3 separate regions of the Homo sapiens genome follow, and regions 1 and 2 are each linked to region 3. The links are contacts of gene promoters, found by promoter capture Hi-C in blood cells and fetal thymus (Javierre and others, 2016). All regions are on one chromosome and are shown on one strand. Each heading gives the region's core, a stretch centred on a gene start or on the middle of the fragment in contact. The rest is flanking DNA. Distances are from core to core; before and after follow the strand shown.

The links. The method cuts DNA at HindIII sites, captures the fragments that hold promoters and counts their contacts. A CHiCAGO score of 5 or more calls a contact.
Region 1: a contact is called between a fragment that was not itself captured here and the fragment with the promoter of TEK in region 3, in 1 of 17 cell types (endothelial precursors). The highest score is 5.0, in endothelial precursors.
Region 2: a contact is called between a fragment that was not itself captured here and the fragment with the promoter of TEK in region 3, in 1 of 17 cell types (endothelial precursors). The highest score is 7.4, in endothelial precursors.

The regions. Positions count from the first base shown.
Region 1 is chr9:26,947,251-26,951,686 of GRCh38, forward strand. It overlaps a transcript of IFT74 not described here. Among named protein-coding and RNA genes, the nearest start is that of PLAA, 2.2 kb to the left of the region's middle. RefSeq lists enhancers at 1-416, 6-315. The HindIII fragment of the contact is 1,706 bases long and covers 442-2,147 here.
Region 2 is chr9:27,270,747-27,275,450 of GRCh38, forward strand. It overlaps the pseudogene REXO6P. Among named protein-coding and RNA genes, the nearest start is that of EQTN, 24 kb to the right of the region's middle. The HindIII fragment of the contact is 1,542 bases long and covers 820-2,361 here.
Region 3 is chr9:27,106,142-27,111,085 of GRCh38, forward strand. It overlaps TEK (TEK receptor tyrosine kinase), which reads left to right and starts at 3,084. Exons shown (of 23, transcript NM_000459.5): 1 at 3,084-3,501. The coding sequence starts at 3,450. LOC124902134 (a long non-coding RNA gene) reads left to right here. Exons shown (of 2, transcript XR_007061440.1): 2 at 1-400. The HindIII fragment of the contact is 9,085 bases long and covers 1-4,944 here.

The DNA.
Region 1 (4,436 bases), core at 45-2,544, 160 kb before region 3:
CTCCGGAATTCATCATCGGCCTCAGCCCTCCATGACGCAGAGTGTGTGCGTCCCAACCGCCGACGCCGATGCGGAGCTGAGCTGGCTTTCCTCCAGGGCTCTGGACTCCCTGCTGAGCAAGAGAGAAAGAGGCCCGCCCTTCCACCAGGACGCCTGACCCTGGGGTCCTTCCCAAACCCGGGTCTCTTCCGACTCCGGGCCCAACAGTTTGTGGTAAATCGGGAAGCGGGCCGGGACTACAATTCCCATAATGCCGCGCCAGCTGGCGTGGACATCCGGCGCGCCGAATCCGGATATTTTAAACCTGAGTCTTTCGCGCTGGGCATGGCGGAATGGCTGAGTGAGGTTGTTTGGTGTCTACTGTTAGGTCATCCTCACTGCTTTTCCCTGAGAATCTCGAGGTTTTTGCAAGTTAACCTTGTTTTTCAATTAAAACGAGAAAGCTTGAGGCCAAATTGGGAACTATTAATCATTGAACTATTCCTCCGTTTCAAGTTATCTGAATCTCCTACTCTCTGTTGTCAAATTTAGCAAATACGGTGGTCCAAGTCAATTTTTTAAAGGTATAACTACTTTTCTCTGGCGGCTTGTTAAAATGTAGATTCTGATTCAGTAGGTCTGAGTTAGAGCTGAGATACGTATTTTTAACAACCCCGCCGCCCACCCACCCGTGGTGCTACTTGCTAGTCATTATCAGACCTTATTGAGTGCCAGGGTAAACATGACCTGTCTCCTTACTTTGTTTTCTTCCCATCCGCTATTCTCTCGCATCCAACTACACTTTTCCACAAACCTTTCTAAATTGCTAAGCCCAATTCACACTTTTCTGACTTCTCCCTTCCTAAAACTCCTACTCTAGGTTTGGAATCACTTTTCCCCTGGTTTGGGAGATCATTCTTGAAATGCTGACTTTTGATACTTCTTTGCTATCATATCCCCTCCCTGGGTGGATTATTTACTACTTGGCTTATTTCTAGAGCTGTATTCCCATATTGTCTTCTCCAAACTCTAGATCTGTATTTCTAGCTATCTGTTAGAAATCTGTACCAATTAGTCCTACTTAAATTATTTCAACATTTCTCTGGCCTTTCTACCCCTTCTCTCCAGCCAATCCTACACATTAAAATATAATTATCTTTCTGAAATATACACTTAATTGTTTTTTCTCTGTTTGACAACCTGTGATGGCTTTCCATTATTTTTTTTTTTTTTTTTTTTTTTTTTTTTTTTTTTTTTTTGAGACGGAGTGTCGCTCTGCTGCCAGGCTGAGTGCAGTGGCGCGATCTCGGCTCACTGCAACCCTCGCCTCCCGGGTTCAAGCGATTCCTGCCTCAGCCTCCCGAGTAGCTGGGACTACAGGAGCGCGCCACCATGCCCAGCTAAATTTTGTGTTTTTAGTAGAAACGAGTTTCACCATGTTGGCCAGGATAGTCTCAATCTCTTGACCTCATAATCTGCCCTCCTCTGCCTTCCAAAGTGCTGGATTATAAGCGTGAGCCACCACGCCTGGCCGGCTTTCCATTCTTATAGTACAGCATTACATAGGGCCTTTCACACAATCTCCCTAATCTGTTTTACTAGATTCATCTCCCTCTGTTATCTCTCTTACTCTAGACATTTCGAATTTGTCACAATTCCCTGAACACATTATGCTGTATGCTCTCCATGTCTCTATGCTCTTTGTACATGCATTTTTTTTTTAAACTTAGAATTCCACTTTCTCCATCTGTCATAGTTCAACACCAGTTTATCTTCTGTTTTTTTCTAGTTCCTCTGGGGAACCAATGCAGTTTTGTCTGTTGTCAATATAGTATTTACTGCATTCTAATATGTTCTTTTATGTCTGTCTTTTCTACCGGACTACATTTTATTATTATCAAGACCTTTATTTTACATGAATCTTAACCATCTAATTTACTGCCTCCTATATAATAGGAAATGTTTTTCAACTTGGTATAGTATTCAGTTTACCAATTTTCACAGTCTCTCATTTAGTTCTCACAATAACCCTGCAAGGTAGATAGTATTATTCCCATTTCACACATGAAGAATTTGCCTTGTTTAAAAAATGTTAATTTGGAGGCCATTAGGTTGAGATAGTTCCAGCTCTGGAGCCCAACTCAATGTAAACAGTAAAATGAAACTTAAGCTTAACTAACAGAAACAGACAAACCTCTAACTAAGGACTTTCCACTTTAACCAATCAAGTAAGTATATTTTCTTAGTCTTGCTTCCACCAACCCCTTATAAAAGTTTTCCCCTCGTGCTGTAATTGCCCCTGTGTTCTTTTACACAGGGAAATGTGTAATTTCACATTTCCCTGTGTAATTGCCTGCTGCCTTCCAAAAAACCAATGCACTGAGAACTACAAATGTTGCAGCAGGGAAAGATGAATAATCACAGGGCCAGCCAACGAGGAGGATGGGAGATATTTCTCAAATCCACCTCCAAGAATGTAGAGACTAGGTTTTTAAAGGATCGGTTGGTGGGCAGGAGGCTAGGAAATGGGAAATGCTAATTGGTTGGGTCAGGGATGAATCACAGGTGTGTCAGAACTATCTTCGTGAACCTGAGTCATTTCTGAGGAGTGGGGTTCACAGGTCCAGGTTGTGTCTGTTGGTCTGCCAAAATGCTAAATTTGAAAAATATCTCAAAGACCAGTTAATTAGGTTTCACAATAGTGATGTTATCTGTAGGAGTACTTGGCGAAGTTACAAATCTTGTGACCTCTGGTTACGTGACTCCAGGGCAGGAGGCTCTATAGAAAAGCAAGCTAATTAGGCTGGGTGAGGTGGCTCACGCCTGTAATCCCAGCACTTTGGGAGGCCAAGGCAGGTGGATCACAAGGTCAGGAGATCGAGACCATCCTGGCTAACATGGTGAAACCTTGTCTCTACTAAAAATACAAAAAGTTAGCCGGGTGTGGTGGCACGCGCCTGTAGTCCCAGCTACTCAGGAGGCTGAGGCAGGAGAATCACTTGAACCCGGGAGGGGGAGGTTGCAGTGAGCTGAGATTGCGCCACTGCACTCCAGCCTGGCAACAGAGCGAGACTCTGTCTCAAAAAAAAAAAAAGAAAGAAAGAAAAGCAAGCTAATCAAACAATGCCAAGTTATTGTTTGAGCATGTCTATTCTTTAGCAAAGTTCAAGCCTCTACCATAATTCTAATCTTGTCTTATGAATGTAGCTTCAATCTCCATACAAGGAGTTGGGGTGGGGGGTCACTTTTCCTTGCCTCAAAGTTTAACTATAAACCAAATTCCTGGCATAGTTATTTTAGCCTCCACACTAGAATAAGCAAAAAACAAACTAACAATAAAACGACAACAACAAAAAACTAGTTTAGCCTGTGAGGTTTTGAGCAAAATGGAGTCAGTCATGTTAGATTTCTCTCATTAGTTATAATTCTGCAAAGGTAGTTTAAGTGCCCCTAGATGGAGTTTCACCACTTGTGGTTTGGTGCTGCCCAATTCATGAATCACTGTCTGCTCAACTGAACTGTTTAATACTTTAATGTGTGTTGTCTTTTAACAGCTTGATAGGAGGTTAATGCTCAGTAGATGTTATTGGTTACCTTAATGAATTAATGAATAACTGAAATAACTATTTTAATGTCACATAACTAGAACATAGTGCAGCTGGGACTAAAATTCTATGAACACTAAATTGGGTTCTTGATACTTTAAAAATAATTTTAATGTTTTTATGTGTTCAGCAGTTCAAAGGTTTAAAACAAATCATTTATGTCAACTGTCTGTCTGCATACAAATAACAATTCTGGATCCCCCTCCCATATGCCTGAAGGCATGAAGGAAAAATGTCCGTAATGACAGTAGTTCTCTCAGAGAAAATGCATGGAATAGTTGGGTAGCTGGACTAAACATCACAGTTTGTGTAAATTGAGGTAAACATCACAGTTTATGTTCTCAATATGATGTTTTCATTAAAATTTAATTTTAAAAGCCCTCAATGCACTGAGAACAGCATTAATGCAGATTATACAGGAATGAAGTTGGGGTCAATATGGTTCAGGGCTGGCAACTTAGTAGGAAAACCCAGGCAAACTAAAGAAAGGAATTGTAACAGGGATGGTATTTGGCTTGTGTGTGAAAGTGATGGTGACAGAATATTGTTTAGCATTTTTTTTTTAACTAAAATTCGCCACATAGACTCTGGTGCCAAAACTTTGGGCTGGTATAGCACAATACATACATGAAATAAAATATTAAAATGCATTGGAAAATGATAGAAATTTTACATGTACAGATCTTAGAAAATTGAGGCTACAAATATGTCCCCCATAAGGGGAATGTTGAAAAAACAAAGTCCATATATATAAGAAAAAAACCCATAAAATGTGAAATATGGGCTGGGCGCAATGGCTCACGCCTGTAATACTACCACTTTGGGAGACTGAGGCAGGTAGATTGCCTGAAC
Region 2 (4,704 bases), core at 341-2,840, 160 kb after region 3:
TTCAATTACATGAGATAAATAGAATAAGAAAATTCATAGAAACATGGCTGGGCATGGTGGCATGCACCTGTAATCCCAGCTACTTGGGAGGCTGAGGCAGGAGAATCGCTTGAAGCTGGAAGGCAGAGGTTGCAGTGAGTGGAGATTGCGCCACTGCACTCCAGCCTGGTGACAAAGTGAGACTCTGTCAAAAAAAGAAAAAAAAAAAAGAAAAGAAAAGAAAATTCATGGAAACATAAAGTAGAATAGAGATTACCAGAGACTGAAAGGAGAGAGGAATGGGGAGTTATTTAATGAGTACAGAATTTCTGTTTGAAATGATAAAAAAGCTCTGGAAATGGATAGTAGTGATAGTTTCATAACATTGTGAATACACATCATACCACTGAATTGTACACTTAAATGGTTAGAATGGTAATTTTATGTTACGTGTATTTTATAGCAATTTTAAAAAGTCATTGACACTAACAAAAAACGCTACAGAACAATATCTGTGATAAATATAGACACAAAAATCCTCAATGGAATACTAGGAAATGTAACCTAGCAACGTATAAAAAAAGATTATATGCCATGACCAAGAACACCTATCAAATAAATGTAAGGTTTAACACAGAAAGTCAATGCAATGTATCATATTAATAGAATAAAGGATAAAACCTGTGTGACAGCTCAATAGATGAAGAAAAAAGCATTTAACAAAATCTAACACAATGAGGCACTCAACAAACTAGGAATGGAAAGGAATTGTCTCAACTTAATAAAGGTTATATGTAAAAACCCCATAGTTATCATTGTACTTAATGAAGAAAGACTTAAAGCTTTCCCCCTAGGATCAGGAATAAGACAAGCATGCCCCTTATTACCACTGCTGTACCCATGTTTCCTTTGTTAGGTTTTCTGAGCCATGGGGCTCCCCTGTGCAGAGGATGGAGCTAGCAGACAGTCCTCACCCTGCCCAGACCCCCTAGAAGTAACCAGGGGACTTTTGGTAACTGAAAAAGACCATAAAAGTCATCCAAGAGGGAAGAAGGAACTGAACCAGTCCCATGGCCTGGTTTTGAAAATGTAATGAAGAGAAAATGAATAAAGTTATTTGCTAGTTGTGCTCCATGAGTTTTTTATTCAATGTAATAATTTTGTGTGTGTCTTCAGATAAATTACATTATATAATACCAACCTTGTAAACAGCCTCATCCTCTGTTTTACAAACTTTCAAATACTTCTCAACAAAGAGGTTGATGTAGCGTTGTCTTACTTCATCAGGTACTTTGGATAAGAATTCTGATGTTACTGAATGTCTTTTCCGATGAGCCATCTTGTTAAATGTATCTTTTGGCCTCTTGTTAAAAATAAAAGTGTTATTAGAGAAAAGAAGACATGTTTCTGTTTAATATTCCTACTGAGTATATGGAAGAAGTAAAACTACCTTAGGTCAGTTATATCAAAATTAAATTGAAAAGTAATTTCAAGTGTCAAGTTGAAGAGGTAGAATAAACACAAAGTATAAAATTACTTAAACTCACAAAATGGAGAAGTGAGACTGCCACATCTGTGCTGCTACCTGCACGTACGCAATGATAGCTGATCACTCATCTAATTGTACTACTGTTCCACAACCAGATTCCTAAAGCTGGGATTTGCTCCTCTGATTCAAATATAGCAAAGTTTGTAGGTTGCCATCCTTCAACTATGTATCCCAATGTCTTTCTGATAGCACATCATTAAGAAAAATGCTTGGACTTAAAATTTCTGAGTGACTTGAGTATACTTAATATTAAAGTGATCCCAGCTATAAACTCTTAGCATTTCTTCTGAAGGACTTATAAAAAGACCCAGAGAACTTTAAAATCAGTTAATCTGCTTCACCTTTGAGGAAAAATAAAACCAAGCCAACATCATACTTCTCAGTAATTGTTTGCATGTAATACAAAGACATTTTAGGGATGGAGAAAACCTTAAAACTGCCAGGTGGTTTTCTGCTACAAAATAATTGGAAAACAGGGGAGGAAAATCACTGCCACAAGTAGAATAAGAATTACTTAAAGAAGGCTACAACATCATATCACTGATGGCATTATTTAGTAAAGAGCTGTCTCTGTCTCATATACATAAACAAATATACACCCTCACTGGACACAGCTTGAAACTTTCCTTTTAAAAAATGTTGAGTAGGTTTCAATTAACCATAGCCATAGATGTTTTAAGTCTAAAACAATGCCTACTATTTCCAAGGATAGAATCAACAAAACATCTAAGAGTGACACAAATTACATCATAATGAAAATAACTATATTCATCGGTAAGCTAAAAAATGTTGACATTTTTCTCTATTGGGTCTGGCATTTATCTGAATTTGAAAGCTTCAGAAAAAAATATAGCCACTCTTCCAGGGACTCTATATGTAAGCAGGATATGATGAAATATAATTCTGGTGTTCAGACTTAGTTTATAATACCTAAACAGAAAGAGAAGCAATACTTTTGACAGGAATGAACGATTTGGTTGGTTTTGCAGTTGGGTTTTCTCTTGAAAGAACTACATTCAGATGAAGGTCCATTGTGAGTGAATATTCTAAGAAGTTTTCATGAACAAGGAAAAGAAAAGATAAATTTTAATGACATTAACCTCAGATGATTAGAGTTTAATCATTAATTCAAAATTTCACAACACTTCCTTTATAGGTTTGAAACATGCAACCTGGAAGAAAACAACATTCAAATGCAAAAAAATCCCAATAACCCACTCCAGTATAATTCAGAAGAATGAATTGAGATAATTGATAAAACAATTGTAAAATACTTGCAAAATAGTACTACTATTGTGTATCATTTAGAGATAAACAAAGTATTGACTGGGAGTGGTGGCTCATGCCTGTAATCTCAGCACTTGGGGGGCCGAGGTGGGTGGATCGCTTTAAGGTCAGGAGTTGAGACCAGCCTGGCTAACACGGCAAAACCCCGTCTCTACTAATAATACAAAAAAAGAAAAAAAAAATTAGCCAGGTGTGATGGATGGCACATGCCTGCCCAGCTACTCAGGAGGCTGAGGCATGAGAATCACCTGAACCTGGGAGGCAGAGGTTGCAGTGAACCTAGATTGTGCCACTGCACTCCAGCCTGGGCCACAGAGTAAAACTGTGTCTCAAAAAAAAAAAAAAAAAAAAAAAAAAAAGATGTAGACAAAATATTTAAATATCAATCATATTATTTCATGTAAAACTGTGCCATTGATTCAACTATACTTGGTAGCATGTGGATTTTTAAGAAATATTTTTTAAAATGAAGTAAAATTCCATTTCTTAAATAAGTGACTTTTTTTTAAAAAAAGCTTTTTTCCAAACCTTTCCTTTGGCTCTGAGAGGCTGGACATGTAGATGCATTTTTCTTCTGTTCTGAAGTGGCATCAATAAAAGCCTTCCCATTCTTTATGGCAGCCTTTATCTGTACTGCTTTGCTGGGCCCGAATGATTCCAGTGGGGCTTGTTAGCAGTGGGACTGGTACCCTGAATGGTCTAATGACCTCTTTATTGGTTGAGGCCTATAGGGCAGCAACATAAAACAAATGAAAATGATGAAAAATTGATAAAATTGATAATTTTGCCTTTCTTCTATCATAGAAGCTCGTTGGGGGCCTTACAGCCAGCCACACAGTAAATTGACCACATTTGTAACGCTGATTGTGATCCAATGCATGCATAGTTGGAGTATCCCCAGAAATAAGGAAATAATAAAACTGAACAACTACTGAAACATAATTTAAGAAAGTTTTAACTAAAAAATTAAATTTCATACAAAAGTGATACTTTGTATGTAGACAGAAAAAATAGAATAGCTAATAAGACATATCTACTAAAGTTATTGGACTTCAGAATTAAAGGAAGAATCCTTTGGATAGGCAGACAAAAGTATCACACGACTCAAAGGGTGAAATAGCAGGCAAGCAGACTTCTCCACAGCAACATTTGTTATAAGAGAATGGAACATGGGAAAGAATGTTTAGCTTCACTAATAATTAAAGAAATGTAATATAAGATAAGGCAATAAAATTTTAACCAGATTTGCAGGCTTTAAAAAATTATAATGTGCATCGTAGGTAAGGGTTTGTGGGAAGAGAACTCTGAAACATTGAGAAGGACTATAAATTGTGAAAACCCTTCTGGAAGGCAATACAGTGACAATAAGATTTTTAAAGAATGCTTTAAAAATCTTAAAATTCTTTATCTTTAGTCCAATTATTTCAACTTGTGAGAATTTTAAGGACAGTTATTTACAAAGCCAAAAACTATTTATATACAAGAATTGGGGAGGGGGTAACAGGGAGTAGGTGGGACTACAGGCACGCGCCATCACACCTGGCTTTTTTTTTTTTTTTTTTACATAGCACAATAAAATTAAAACTATAAACACCACAACATTTGCAGTTAAAGGGAAATAATGTTAGCCACCAAAAAAACTTTGTAAGAAATAAGAGGAAGGTAACTAGCATTTATTAAGTACTTATATATTTGACCCTGGGGTAGGCACTCAATTTTCCTTTCATAGATAAGGAAACTGAAGCTCAGAAAAATTAAATAACTTGCCCAAGGACACCCAACTATTCTATGAAGAACTGAAATTCAGGTTTTCATTTGTGATTTGGAAGTATAGACTCTGCCATGCAGAAAGTTTATTAAATATCTTTTTTTTTTTTTTTTTTTTTTTT
Region 3 (4,944 bases), core at 1,834-4,333:
TTGCCAGTGGATGTTTTAAAGTATACATCCTATTGCCCTGGGTCAACTTTCTCAAGGACGTCCCCTCAGTCTTCTTCATTTTTACATATATGTTCGTTATTTCTAAAAGTGTTAAAATTATAGAAAAGTATAAAAAAGAAAATAAAAATTATGTTTTCCAACAACTCAGAAATAGTCACTTTCAACGCTTTGATATTTATTTGTTGTATATCTGTGGTGTGTATTTCAGTGTGTATAAATTTCATTCTGTTTAAATTGTGTTTTTTTCCCAATCAACAGTATACCATAAACATTTTCACATCTTTTTATGTCAATCTGATTTCACCATAGTATTTGAACACTTGTCTGGAACTTCATTGTATACCATGATTTTTAATAAATAATCCATTTTTGTTGACCATTTTGATTATTTCTAGGCTTTGATTATTATCAACTATGCTTCTATAATGTCCTTATACACAAATTTGGGGGCACATATTTGATTTTGGCTTGGTGTATATCATAAAAATGGATTTTCTGGTGGGGCGCAGTGGCTTACACCTGTAATCCCAGCACTTTGGGAGGCCAAGGGGGGGGGGGGGTGGATCATGAGGTTAGGAGTTCAAGACCATCCTGGCCAATATGGTGAAACCCCATCTCTACTAAAAAGTATAAAAATTAGCCGGGTGTGGTGGTGCACGCCTGTAATTCCAGCTACTCAGGAGGCTGAGGCAGGAGAATCGCTTGAACCCAGGAGGCGGACGTTGCAGTGAGCCGAGATAGTGCCACTGCACTCCAGCCTGGGCGACAGAGTGAGACTCTATTTCAAAAAAAAAAAAAACTGGATTTTCTGGGCCAAAGGGTATGCATACAAGGCTTTTGCTTTGTGTTTGTGATGTTGACCTCTTGACATGTGATACCAGTGTATAGTAGTATTATGTAAGTTATTTTCCACCTCTTTCAGAAAAACCGTTTTGTTATCTATTGATACCTTTGTTAATTAGTCTCAAAGACTTTTAATGTTGTCTATAGTGTTTTTCATGTATTGAGTGCAAAAAGCAGGAAATAGAAAATGAAGAATCAGCCAAGAGCCTTGTTTGTTTGTTTAGTTTGGTTTGGTTTTCTTTATGCTTTTACTGTAGGTATGTCTGGAAAAATCAAATTAAATGGAATGAGCTTGACTCATGAGGAGGCCCCTTTCATTTTCCTGAAGTGAATTAATACAGCACCCACCGATCCTGACATTAGTTATTTCAGAAGCACACTAAGAACTGACCGCACTTCTCAGTGTCACCAAACTATTCTTATCTGTCAAAGTTTCATTTCAAATACTTCTGTAAGGTCTAGGTGTACCCTGCTGGTGTTTGTGATGTCCTACATTACTCTTGATCTACTTTTCAACTATGAAACAAGGGAAAAATTGGAGGTCCAGAGCTCAGGATTCAGATATTATTACCTCTGCTACTCACAGCAGAGCAAGTAACTTAGCCTGTGTGGAACTTCATTTTTCTTTCTTTTTTTTCTTTTTTTTTTTTTTTTTTTTAGACAGAGTCTTGCTCTGTCACCCAGGCTGGAGTGCAGTGGCACGATCTCGGCTCACTGCAACCTCTGCCTCCCAGGTTCAAACAATTCTCCTGCCTCAGCCTCCAGAGTAGCTGGGGTTACAGGTGCACGCCAGCAAGCACAGCTAAATTTTGTATTTTTAGTAGAGATGGGGTTTTGCCATGTTGGCCAGGCTGGTCTCAAACTCCTGACCTCAGGTGATCCACTCCCAAAGTGCTGGGATTATAGGCGTGAGCCACTGTGCCAGGCCCACTGTTTTTGTTTTTTTTTTTCGTGATGACAAATTTAAAGTCATCTCATAGGAATAGAAAATAGCTTTTTAGTAGAAGCTCTTGGAATTTAAATTGAGACTGAATGGAAAGATGAAAGAAAATAAACTTATTAACATTTAATGAGAACCTTCAAAGAACTAGGCATAGTACCAAATGGTTTTATATTTTTAAACCTCATTTATTCCTCTCAAAACACCTGGGAAGGAGATATTTTTGCCATTTCACAGCTGTTGAAACTGAGGCTCAAAAAGACTAAGTAACTTTTCTCAGCTACACATGTGGCTGAGCCAGTATTTGAACCCAGTTCTGTTTGCAGACAGAACCTGGGCTTTTTCACACCTGCAAACTGGAAACATTAATTGGTTCTTAAGATCATCATCGATGTGATAAAACCTGGGACAGAAATTAGTCAAGACTAGCTGCATCTGCCTTTTCCTCTGGTGGGTAGGAAAAGGAGGAGTATAATGATTTCCTCAGGCATGAAGGTCGATGATGAGCAAAGTGTATACTCTCTAATCTAATGTCATAATTCATATTGTGGAGTAATTATCTGGATAAGTGTAGGGTCTCTGACCTCATTCTAGATATTGTACATTCCATGGCTATTTTCATTTTGGTCCATGAACTCTCTTTGCTCTCATGAGCACCATTTTTATCCCAATCTAATCCTGTATGTTTGTGTTTTTACACAGATTAGTTTTTAAATGTTATATATAATTTGCTTCTGAAACACCATTGCTCAATGACTACCAAATCTTTCTCATTACCAAAATCCTTCTATGCCAACTTCTTCAAGAAATTTGATCACCTTTAGATGAATTGTTAATGAAAATTAAAGCTATAGCCGGCAACATGGGTATCTTTGGGCTAATGGCCAACCAACAGGCCATCTGTGTGAAAGAAAACAGGCTAACAATTTTGGACTCTGGTCTCTTGGGGCTACATTGAGCATTGACCTCACCGGTGCTCACTGAAATTAATTGCTTTTCAGGTTGTATTTTCTCATCACGGAAACCTTCTTCTCCCAATTCAAACCATGTGGGTTAAAATGAGAAAACAAAAGCCAAAACGGCTTCCCACACCCAAAAGCTCCTTCTGTCAGAGATCCCAGTAGCCCCGGGAGAGCTGTTAGAAGTCTGAGAAGGATTGGTCATCATCGCATACCATACATAGGTGGAGGGCTTGTTATTCTCAGTTTCCCGCCTATGAGAGGATACCCCTATTGTTTCTGAAAATGCTGACCGGGACCCACACTTCCAACAAAAATTCCTCTGCCCCTACAGCAGCAGCAAAAGCAGCAGCAGAAGCAACAGCAACAGATAAGTGTTTTGATGAATTGCGAGATGGATAGGGCTTGAGTGCCCCCAGCCCTGCTGATACCAAATGCCTTTAAGATACAGCCTTTCCCATCCTAATCTACAAAGGAAACAGGAAAAAGGAACTTAAAACTCCCTGTGCTCAGACAGAAATGAGACTGTTACAGCCTGCTTCTGTGCTGTTCCTTCTTGCCTCTAACTTGTAAACAAGACGTAGTAGGACGATGCTAATGGAAAGTCACAAACCGCTGGGTTTTTGAAAGGATCCTTGGGACCTCATGCACATTTGTGGAAACTGGATGGAGAGATTTGGGGAAGCATGGACTCTTTAGCCAGCTTAGTTCTCTGTGGAGTCAGCTTGCTCCTTTCTGGTAAGGTTTGGCTTTATTTTTTTTAATTTAGTATTTTAAAAAACAGAGTTAGTGATTTCTGGGTGCTCTCCCCAAATCTCATCAGTGCTGATGAACAAGGGGTGGCTGTAGCAAAGGCACCATTTCTCTGTGAGTCTCCAGTCAATATGTGTGGAAGGATTGAAATGCAAAGGCTCTGTGGCATGAACTGATTTTGCTAGTTTGTCTTCTGGGTGATTGGCCCCTGTGTTAGAAACTCTTTGAGGACCGATTAAATCATCTTATTTGAAGAGATCCCCTTACTATCATGCATTATTTTCCTGCTCCTCATTCTGGAGTGTTTTTCTTATTGATTTTTTTTTTAAAGAACAAACCGGTTTTACCTGCTTTAAAGAAAATCTTCAGTAAAAAATGAAATTCATGCTGAGAAATACAGGGGCCCAATTAAGGCAGTGTATAGATTGTCACTGTTAAAAGGGAACAAAGATGCTTTTCTGTAAAAAGATTTTATATCTACATCCTATTTTAAGCAAAGCAATGAAATTGTAGGCTTTTTTTTTTTTCTTGTAGTTAGGGTCAGGGAGATTGGGGCTATTAGAATTTTTGTTTTATTTTAAAAAATGTTTGCCATGTAGTAATTCATAAAGGGTTTACTGGCCCAATGAAACAAAAATTTAGGCAGTTACCAAAATCTTTAACACAGGAGAGTATATGAAGCCTGTTGTAGAGTGAAGGAGTGGTTGGCCAGTGTGTTGGGTTCAGCGTGTTTATTGCTTAGATACTCCAGATAGTGGTGTGCCTCTGTAGCTCACTCAGCCTATGTGACATAGGTAGAAGGCAGTATCCAAACCTGAACTACATATCACAAATACATTTATCATTGCCATCAGTCTCTCCCCTTCGGTTTGAAAACATTCTAATTTTAATAACGAAAATCGAATTGATATTGGAGATGAATTTGGGAAAATTCACTAAACTTCATGGATATAGGGCATATTAATATAATTTGATTCGAGTATACATAAGTATCTGCTATATTTTCTAGGTGTTTGAACTATTTTATTAAATATTCAAAAAACAAATCCAATGAAATAACTGAGTTGAATACAGTTTGTTTTATAGCTCTCAACAACCAATATTTTGAGAATTTAATAATATTCTTTAAGAATGTGTAACACAAGTTGCTAAAAATTAAAAGATTTTAGGTGGCTTCAGTATTTATGTGGAAATTGTTTAAATAATGTTGACTTCTCCAATAATATGTACTTCAAATAATTATCATGATTCCATTTTTGATTTTTTTTTTTCTGAGTGCCATTATTTACCAGTGACATGAAATCTGGAACTTACTCTATACCAGGGATTATAGTGATGTGAAGCCCAGGTGTCTATAGTTTCTCTGAGGTACTTTGTAGGTTAATACACACACAACTGTTTTCATTCACTTTTTTTACTCCTAAAGCA